2 separate regions of the Homo sapiens genome follow, and region 1 is linked to region 2. The links are contacts of gene promoters, found by promoter capture Hi-C in blood cells and fetal thymus (Javierre and others, 2016). All regions are on one chromosome and are shown on one strand. The core of a region is centred on a gene start or on the middle of the fragment in contact, and the rest is flanking DNA. Distances in the headings are between cores, read along the strand shown.

Region 1 (4,534 bases), core at 1,813-4,312, 590 kb before region 2:
CCCATACCTCCCTTCCCAGCCCTCCCCACACCCCCCTTCCCTGCCCTCCCCACACCCCGCTTCCCTGCCCCAGCATGAGTCAGTGTTGGACAGCCAGCCTCACACCTCTGCCTTGGGAAGGACAGGGGACAGCTTCCTACTTGCATGAAGGGACCATCCTAGAAGCTTCACAGTCCCTTCTACCACCAGCAACCTGGTCCCTGCAGTTGGGGCCCTCTTGGCCCACACCTGGGGCTCAGACCTTGAAGAAGCAGCCCCAGGTCTCGTCCCTGGCCTGGGATCCTACAGGTTGGACAGGTTTGAGGCCAGACTCCTGGGGCCCTTGGGGAGATGGTACCAGCCCCAGAAGCCCCTCCCTGGGTGTGAAGCTGCGTTTTGCTTGGACCCTGAGCCTTGGGCCAGCCTCCAGTAGAGCCTGAGCCCTCTCCAGAGACAGAGCTCCCAAATGGGCCCAGCCAGCCCATACCCCAAGCTGACCTTTCAGGGTGCTTTCATGGGGGCCCTTCATCGAGAATCCAGTGTGCTGGGGGTAAACTTCCTCCCTCCTCCACAGGCCCCTCCCTTCCAAGCAGAGGGACCACCGAGGGGCCCTGATGAGCACAGTCCCCAGGCTCCCACCAGACCTGTCTCCCGAAGCTGCTGGGAGGTATCAGTGCTTCCACAGAGCGAGAGAACAGCTTGTTCTTATACGTGCGTTAAATGTCCCCAGGCCTTGCAGCTGCCAGTGAGCTTGGGGACTTCTGGGTGGGGCAGAGGCAGCCAGCCTTTGCCCATCACTGTGAGTGTCACAGACTGAGGCCTCAGCCCGGGGCTTTCTCTCATGGCCATGGGCGAGAGACATGCTGGGTGAGCTGACTCGGTGCAAAACGTGCCCCCAAGCCCTGCCTGACTTCACCCTGGGGAGACAGGGCCACGACCCCCCCTCCTGGCTTCTCTCTCCTCCTGGGCACTTGCATTTGTCCCATTTCTGTCCCCTTCTCTGCCGCTTCCTTCCATGGTCTTGAACCCACAGATAGACCCCCTGCCTCTCCACCCACTTCGCTTCTGGGATCATCTGACGAACCCCAGTCCAGGGGGTCAGGCAGGGAGGGGCCCTATTCCTCGCCCTGCATGGAAGTGGGGCCCCCAGGCGGCAGGTGCAGGGCTGGGTAGCCCCCCTCCTCCTCAGGCCTCACCCACTCCTCAACCCCCATGCACCTTCATCAGCTGGCACCGCCTATGTGTCTCTGGCCACAGGGGTCTGGGTAAAGGGTCAGTGCCTCCCACCTTGAGTACCTCGGGGATGGGCAGCCCACAGTGGGAGAGGGCCCTGACAGGGACCTTCAGCCCCGCTCCTCGCCTTCCCCGCTCGGAATCTTCACGCAGTCCCCCTCTTCCGGGGTTCCCCAGCGCAGGCACCAATTTGATCCATCTTCCGCCTGCCAGCTCCCCATCCACCCTTCCCTCCCTGTCTTCACCCGTGTGCTCAAGGACTCAACAAACACCTGTCAGCAGCCCAAGAGCTAAGTTCAGGGACACGCAAGTTCCTCGGGTCAGGTGGGCCAGTCGGCACTGAGGCAGAGGAGGCAAGGGCTGGTCCAGAGAGCCTGGTCACAGCAGAAGGGCCTGCTCCAATGTCGGGGCCAGGTGGAGGCAGTGGGGAGGCGTCCCCTAGGGGTGCCCTTCCCCACCACGTTCCCTGCTCCTACCGTCCTCCTCGCCTGGGATGTCCTGCCCCATCCATCCGTGCAAGGCTGAGTGTAGATGCCAGCCCCGCTGAGGCTCCTCCTGGACCTCAGGATCGCTGTGTTTCTCCCCCACCAGGGGGCTGCCCCCTCTACCACCAGCTCACCCAGCAGGTATCTCTCATCAGCCTTTGGCCTGGCTCCTTGCTGGGCTCTGAATGTCTGCATTCCCCCAAACTTTATGTGTTGCGATCCTAACCCCCAAGGTTATGGTATCAGAAGTGGGGCTTTTGGGAGATGACCAGGGGTGGAACCTCATGAGTGGGATTAGTGTCCTTATAAAAGAGACCCCAGAGTTCTCCCAAGCCCCTCCACCATGTGGAGACCCAGTGAGAAGCTGTCTGTGAACCAGGAAGGGATCCTCACTAGAGAGCGAGCTGGCACCTTCATCTTGGGCTTCCAGCCTCCAGAACTGTGAGAAATAAGTATCTGTTGATGAACCACCTGTCTCTGCTATTCTGTTGGGGCAGTCCAGATAGACAAAGACATGCCCGTTCCCGCGGCCCACCACCTCTGCCCTGAGCACAGTGGGTGAGTCTCGGTTCCCCTTATCCCATCCCTGCTGGGGTCCAGCCCTGGCTTTTCCTGAGGTAGTTTCTCCAGGACCAAGCAGACACCCACAACCAGCAGCCCTTAAGGCATGGACGCACTCGTCCCTGAGGCCTGGGTGTCCCGCCTGGAGGGGCATGTCCACAGCTGCTCTGGGTCCTGACGCTCCAGGAGCTCACGCTGTCTGCAGATCCACCACTTCCCTGGGCAGTCCCCGGCCTGCGTCTTCCTCAGTGCTCAGCTGGAGGTGGAGAGAAATCAGGCTGGGACGGAGGGTGGCCCTTGCTTTGCACGATTCCTGCCTCGACGTTACACCAGGGACATTCCAGCATCTCCCCTTCATTAACTGTAGACCGCCAGCAAATCCAGATTTCATTCAACCAAGTAAACTGGTAGAGTCATTTCCAGCAGCTAATGTGAGCTAGCGCATTAAATTCAGAATCTCTAGTAAGTGTACCTGCATCAATAAAGCCAAGCCGGTCCAGCTGCATTAATACCCTACCCTCCATTCCCACACGGTTCCCAGGTCTCCGTGTGTGAATTTGTAACATCTTACGAGCATTTTGGTGTGAAAGTGGTTCCTTCCTGAGTCAGGCTTTGTACTTGACCCTTCCCCTCCCTGGGAGTACACTGAGGTTCTAGAGGCAACAGGGTGGCTATGGTGGTTAAATAAAATGAGCATCATTTCTAGGCACCTGGCCAGGTAAGCTTATCACAGCATTTTCAAGCAGAACAAAAAAAATAAATAAAGGCTACTCTCAGATCTTGGAGGACAAGCTGCTTCCCCTGGAAGGAGAGGCTCAGAGAACCAGGGGGTTCACAATTCTCAGCTTCATCTGAGCCCAACCAGACATCCCCATGCCAAGCTTCAGCATCCAGTTCCTTCCCACTCAGTGCCCACGTTTCAGTAGTGAGGCTGTGAGTGTGAGCCACACAGCAGTCACACAACTCAGAGTTAAACTGTGCATCCGAGTTGTAGCAGCAGCAGCCCCGAGGCTCTCAGGAACAAGGGACTCTTCCATGGCCATGGCAGTCCTGATTCTCTGTCTATGACTTAAACTGAGTTTAGAGACCTGAACGTGTGGTTCCTTCCTGTTAGTGCTGCTGGACACTCAGGGGACCCCCCACAGCCCTCGTGGTTGTGGTCATCCTCGTGGCCGTGACAGCCTCACACAGCAGCACGTGGGTTCCCGAGGCCCTCAATTCTGCTGGTGCCTCACAGCCAGCATGGGGGATGGCTTGGTTAACTGTGAAGCTCCCCCAACAACACTGTGGGCCAACAGCCTCCCCTTCCCACTGGCCAGGAGATCGGCCTGCAGCCCAGCCCAAGCAACAACCACACTAACCTAATCCCCGGACCCCACCTTTTGATAGTGACAGGAGGCAGACAAATCCTAGGCAGACAGGGACAGGTTCCCAGTGAAACCCCACCTCCGAGCCAAAGACAGTTTAAAGCCTGAAAGCCAAGCTACAAATTAAATCCTCAGCCTGGATTGAGAACCCATCTTCCCATTTGGCTGCTTTCCTCTGATTGATCCCCACCCTTCACCTATTTTACATGTACCTATCTTTTCCTAATTCATTTTCTACACTGGCATGCCCACCTTTGAGTGGTACCTTTGTTTAAGCCTTTTTTGCATAATCAGAAGCCAATCAGCATGCACTCCCCCATTCTGAGCCCATAAATGCCCCGGACCCAGCCACACTAGGAGAGAAACCACCTGACTTCAGGTCGGGAACCACCCGTGCATCCCCTCTCTGCTGAGAGCTGTTCCGTCTCTCAATAAAATTCTTCTCTGCCCTTCTCACACTTCGATTGGCAGCATCTCCTCATTCTTCTTGGACACGGGACAAGAACTTGGGAACTGCCATACATGGGTACAAGCTATAACACAAGCAGGCTGGAACATGCCCAGCCCAGCCACAGGCTGAGCTGGTGAACAGCCAGGTGTGGCCCAGGCAGGCTGAGTGGGTGGGCCACCTCCTGCGGCAGGTAGCATGGCCAAGAGAGGCCTGGGGAGGGGGGGTGTCAGCAGCCAGAGGTACCTGGCTGGCAAAGTGACCAAAGAGGTACCTGACTGTGTCACTTTGAGGGCCTGTCTCTGGGGACCCCCTCCTAGTATGAATTTATGTATCAGTTGGGGTCTACTTGGGAGATGGAAACCACAACAGTGATTCTAATAGCATGAATTTAATGTGCAGAATTTTTCATTAGTTCTGGGTAAAAACAGCTCTAGGGAATCATGGAGGTTGCAACCACA
Region 2 (4,578 bases), core at 189-2,688:
AGACAATTGAGCCTCCTCAACAAACCCGGGGCCAAGCAGCCCCAGATGGCTGACCCGAGACCCCAAGACAAGGTTCGCAGGAAGCTGAACCCGCTCAGACTCGCAGGGCACCATAGAGACCCCCGGGGCACTGTCCTGAGAGGACGTGGCCCGGGGAAGTTGTCACCCGCCTAACCCTGCCGGCCGTCCCTGCCTCTGGGGCTCAGGTTGCCCACGCTGTAGCTGAGGACGCACCGGGGCAGGAGCAGCTTTTCGAGATCCCAAGGACCAGCCAGTGCAAGTCCGGAGCCCGCATTCTGCTCCCCTCCCTCTCTGCAGCAGCAGCCACCCTCGCGGGAGCGGAGGTCCCAGTTCGGGGCTCCTGGAGACGCGCACAGGTGGAAGAACAAACCCACGGGTCCTCCCCTCCCCACCGCCCACACTTCGGGGGGCAGCGACCCCTCCGCTGTGCCTGTGAGCCCGGCCACCTGGTGCAGCCCCCGCCACCCCCAGCAGCGCTGCCCCGAGGCGGCGGCCAAGAGTCCAGGACCCCTCCGCTCCAGCACCTGACCGCGCCCCCTCCCACAGCCAGGCAAGGGCCTCCGGGGGGCGGGTGCGACGCAAACCCCAGGGTCAGTCTCGGCCCCACCGTCTCCTCCAGAAACCCCTGTCCCCGCCCGACCGCCCCGAGCCCTGCCGGGGGCTGCATTGGAGCCACAGCGCCCGCGCCCCGGGTCTCCGGATTTTGGCTAAAGCGAGACCCCCGACCGGGTAAACGTGGAGAACGTTTAGGAAACGCTGATTTTAAGAAACCCGCCAGGAGTTTTCACAACTTGATGAAAACTTTCAGTCCTTACAGGTTTGCGGCCGGAACGTCCCCGCCCAACTTTCCAGCGAAAACGTCTACCACAATGACCGGGCCGAGGAGCTCGCGGCGCGGGGCCGACCCCAGGGAAACCCGGTCCCGGGGAAGGAGCCCGCGCTGTCCACGACGTGTCCGCGGGTGACGCTCACGGGCGGGGACCGAGGACCTCCCGCGACAGCCCCGGGCCCGCAGCGACCTCGCCGCCCCTTCCCTCTCTCCCTCTCGCGCAGGAGCCCCGACGGCTGAGCCCTCCCCGCCCTCCCTGCCTCACCCGCGCCGCTCCCCGCCCTCTCCGCCGCTCACCCCCCGTAATGCGCCTTGAGGCGGACGCGGCCGCCGCTCCCTTCCATCTTGGGGCCGGTCCTGCTGGGCATGGCGCGCTCCCCCCGCCGCCGTCAGCGCTGCGCCCCGGGAGCTCCGGCCATGGCGCGGGGCGGGGGCTCCAGGTGGGGCCGCGGCGGAACGCGGAAGGCAGCGCTCAGGACCGACGGCGCCGACCCGGTCAACTCCGCGGAACTCCGGCGGCGCGCGGGGCGGGAGCGGGGGGCGCGCGGGGCGGGACCGTCCGGCGGGGGCGGGGGGCGGTGTCCGAACATGGCGGACCGAGGTGGAGCCAGCGGCCAATCCGCGGGGCGGGCGGTCCCGGGGCGGGCGGTGGCACCTGCGGCCAATGAGGGCGAGGCGGGGCCGCCACCTGGGCCAATCCTCGGGGGACACCCGGCCGCGGCCCAATGGCGAGGCGCGGGCGGGGCTACCTGTCGGGCGGGGCTACCTGTTGGGCGGGGCGCGGCGCACCTGCGCCAATGGGACCGCGCGCGGCGCGGCTCTGCCCGGCAACCGGAGGGGCCCCGGCCTCTGGGACGGAGCGGCGCCCCCGGGAACTCGCTGGAAACGCGAGTTCTCGGCCTTCGCCCAGACCCTCCGAATCGAAACTCCTGCGGCGCGCGCTGCCAGCCCGAGGGCCCCGCCGTCCAGGGGTCCCCTGACATCTCACACTTGCGGACTGAAGCTGCGAGGAGCGGAGAACCCGGCCAGGGTCACGGACGGGAGCGTCCGGACTCGGGTTCTCTGGGCCCCAGCCCCCACTCCGCCCCCAGCGAATCCAAGGTCCCCTGTAGGGAAGGGCCGTCCACACTCGTGAGTGCAACCGCTCACTTCGCCCAGGTCAAGGACGCGGCATTGGCCCGAGTCGCCCATGACCTTCATTTCTGAAGCCACAGCCTCTCGGGCCTTACTCGAGGGGCTTGATCTGGACAATCGCCCTCCAGGCCCCTCCACCGCCGCCCAGCTCCCTGCCTCCTGGGCTCCTCCCCTGAAAATACGGTTTTCCCTGATCAGCCCATCCCTTACTGGCTGCATCCACTGAAGCCCAGACCTGCTGCCTGCAGGACCTCACCCAGGCACCAGGTGGACACCCAGACCCAGTTCCTGGCCTCGGCCCCTCTCCCCTGAGAGTGGACCTGCTCAGGCCACGCCCTCACACCCCTCACCCAGACACAGCCACCAGGACTTCAGCCACGTGCTTTCATCCCGCAGGTCGTGCCTGGCGCCTCCTTGATGCCAGGCCCTGGGGAGACCTGTGGCCACAGAACCCATGTTCTCCCTGGAGATGGACAGGAGGCCCCTCTCCTACGCAGAAGCTGTCGTTTTTTCTTCTTAAACACCGTTTGCCCCTCCCTCCACCCACCGAGCCATCTCTGCCCCTCTCTACAGCAAAGCTTCCGCCAAGCCGGCCCTGCTCCCTGTCTACCTCTCCTGCCACCACCCACTCACACGTTTTAAATACAAGCCGTCGGTTCTCAGACGTTTTCTCTTTTTTTCTTTCTTTTTCTTTTTTTTGAGATGGAGTTTCGCTCTTGCTGCCCAGGCTGAGTGCAATGGCATGATGTCGGCTCACTGCAACTTCTGCCTCCTGGGTTCAAACCATTCTCCTGCCTCAGTCTCCCAAGTAGCTGGGATTACAGGTGTCCACCACCATGCCCAGCTGATTTTTGTATTTTTAGTAGAGACGGGGTTTTTCCATATTGGCCAGGCTGGTCTCGAACTCCTGACCTCAGGTGATCCACCTGCCTTGGCTTCCCAAAGTGCTGGGATTACAGGCGTGAGCCACTGTGCCCGGCCTCAGACATTTTCTTAACTTGGCCTTTGGTATCAGACCCCTCCTGGGAAGGCTCACACATCCCTGGCCCCGGGTTCCAGCTCCCTAAATCTCCCATCCCTCGCCCTCCTGGTCTGCAGCTTTTAAAACTGTGGAGCCCCAGCCTCAGCCTTTGGCCCGCTTTGCATCCCCAGCTCAGATGGGCCCCCTGAGCTCCCAACCAACACTCACCCAGCCCCAGGCATCCTCCTAATGAGCCTCTCAGCTGACGTCTTCCCCCACTCCATCTTTCTGGGTCATCGAAGTCCCCCCAGTGGTTCCCATCACTCCTGGAGGGAAGGCCAGCTCCTCTGCCCCGGCCTCGAGGCCTCTTTGCTGCCCCGGCCTCCGTCTTTGCACGGCCACTCCCTCTTTGCACAGCCACTCCCTCTTCCAGGAGCACCTGCCTGCAGAGATCTGCTGGACTGGCACCCACACTTCCTTGAAGTCTCTAGCATACCTAATGCCCATTTCAGCAATCTACTCCTCACCCCCATCTCCATGGGGCAACCCCCTCTATCCCTCGCACAGGCACAAAGCCCCATGCCCATCAGCTGGGCATGAAGGGGGGCAGAGAGTAGAGGGTGAGGGGGCAGCCTGGCAGGGTACAGTGATGAGTGGGAACCTGCACCTGCAGCAGCCCTGGATTCAGGCACCCGTCGGCCCAGCTCCCCCACTCCAGGCCCCATGGCCAGGGCTGTGGCCTTGTCTGGAGTCTGGCCTGGCAACATGGCCTGGGCGCTTCCTGATGGGCAGGAAAGAGCAGGGTTTCACCTTAGTGGGGCGGTGCCTGGAAGGGGCCACTGGGCACCCACAGGACTTCCTGGCTGGCGTTCTGATCCAAGGAGGCAGCAAGGCCCGGTCCTTGATACCACTGCCCACAGCAGGCAGGACGGACCCTCGGTTGTGTCCTTCCCTGTCACTGGACATCTCTCCCTGGGCCTGCCCCACCCAAGGCCCCGGAGGACCCTTTCTAACCAAGGACGCCCCTGCTGGGTCAGGCCCTCGGCACTGGCCTCCCTGGGGAGATCTGTGCTGCCAGGCGGGAGCCTCCGTCCTGGAAGCCAGTCCCAGGGCCGTGGCAGTGCCCCAGTCCCAGCGAGGGAAGGTGGGGGGCGGGGCTCTATTCTCTCTGGGGTTGGGAGGGAGAGGGCAACGTCAGTGGATGGTCAACCCCAGTGTCAGACTTTGTTCAGCCCTGATGCCGCCGGTGGAGGGGGGGTCGGGACAGACACAGGTTCCGAAAGGCTCTAGCAGAGGACTGCGGGCACAGGGGCTGCCCAAAACGTCCCCAAAACCTCCCCCAGTACCTGCTCTGGCCTCCCCTCCAGGAGGCAGAGGTCTCCGCTAATGAGATCTGCAAAACAAAGGCCTGGGAGGCCCTGGACCCGCCTCTGGGCAGGCAGGGCAGGTCACAGGGAGGTTCCTAGGTCCTCTGCCCTGAGCCTGTGCCCCTGAGAGGGCCCTGAGGGCAGAGGGCGCTTCCTGAGACACGGATAGGCTCACTGGCTGGCGGTGGTGTCACTGTGTCGCCCGGCGACAGATACAGGGTGTTTGCTCTGGAATCTGCCAACGACTCCCATCCAGATCCCGGCTG

What was found. Contacts are between HindIII fragments. The CHiCAGO score rates a contact against its expected background, and 5 or more counts as called.
Region 1: a fragment that was not itself captured here is called in contact with the fragment with the promoter of PRKCZ in region 2 in 1 of 17 cell types (naive CD8 T cells); the score reaches 5.8 in naive CD8 T cells.

The regions. Positions count from the first base shown.
Region 1 is chr1:2,636,535-2,641,068 of GRCh38, reverse strand. TTC34 (tetratricopeptide repeat domain 34) reads left to right here. Exons shown (of 9, transcript NM_001242672.3): 9 at 1-4,083. MMEL1-AS1 (MMEL1 antisense RNA 1) reads right to left here. Exons shown (of 3, transcript NR_183343.1): 3 at 4,449-4,534. Among named protein-coding and RNA genes, the nearest start is that of MMEL1, 5.8 kb to the right of the region's middle. RefSeq lists a silencer at 2,832-3,032. The HindIII fragment of the contact is 158 bases long and covers 2,984-3,141 here.
Region 2 is chr1:2,047,271-2,051,848 of GRCh38, reverse strand. It overlaps PRKCZ (protein kinase C zeta), which reads right to left and starts at 1,438. Exons shown (of 18, transcript NM_002744.6): 1 at 1,148-1,438. The coding sequence starts at 1,218. It overlaps PRKCZ-DT (PRKCZ divergent transcript), which reads left to right and starts at 1,779. Exons shown (of 3, transcript NR_135509.1): 1 at 1,779-1,981; 2 at 2,183-2,251; 3 at 2,381-2,648. It overlaps LOC105378590 (a long non-coding RNA gene), which reads left to right and starts at 4,402. Exons shown (of 4, transcript XR_007065357.1): 1 at 4,402-4,578. RefSeq lists a silencer at 1,251-1,860 and enhancers at 3,796-4,549, 4,550-4,578. The HindIII fragment of the contact is 10,768 bases long and covers 1-2,564 here.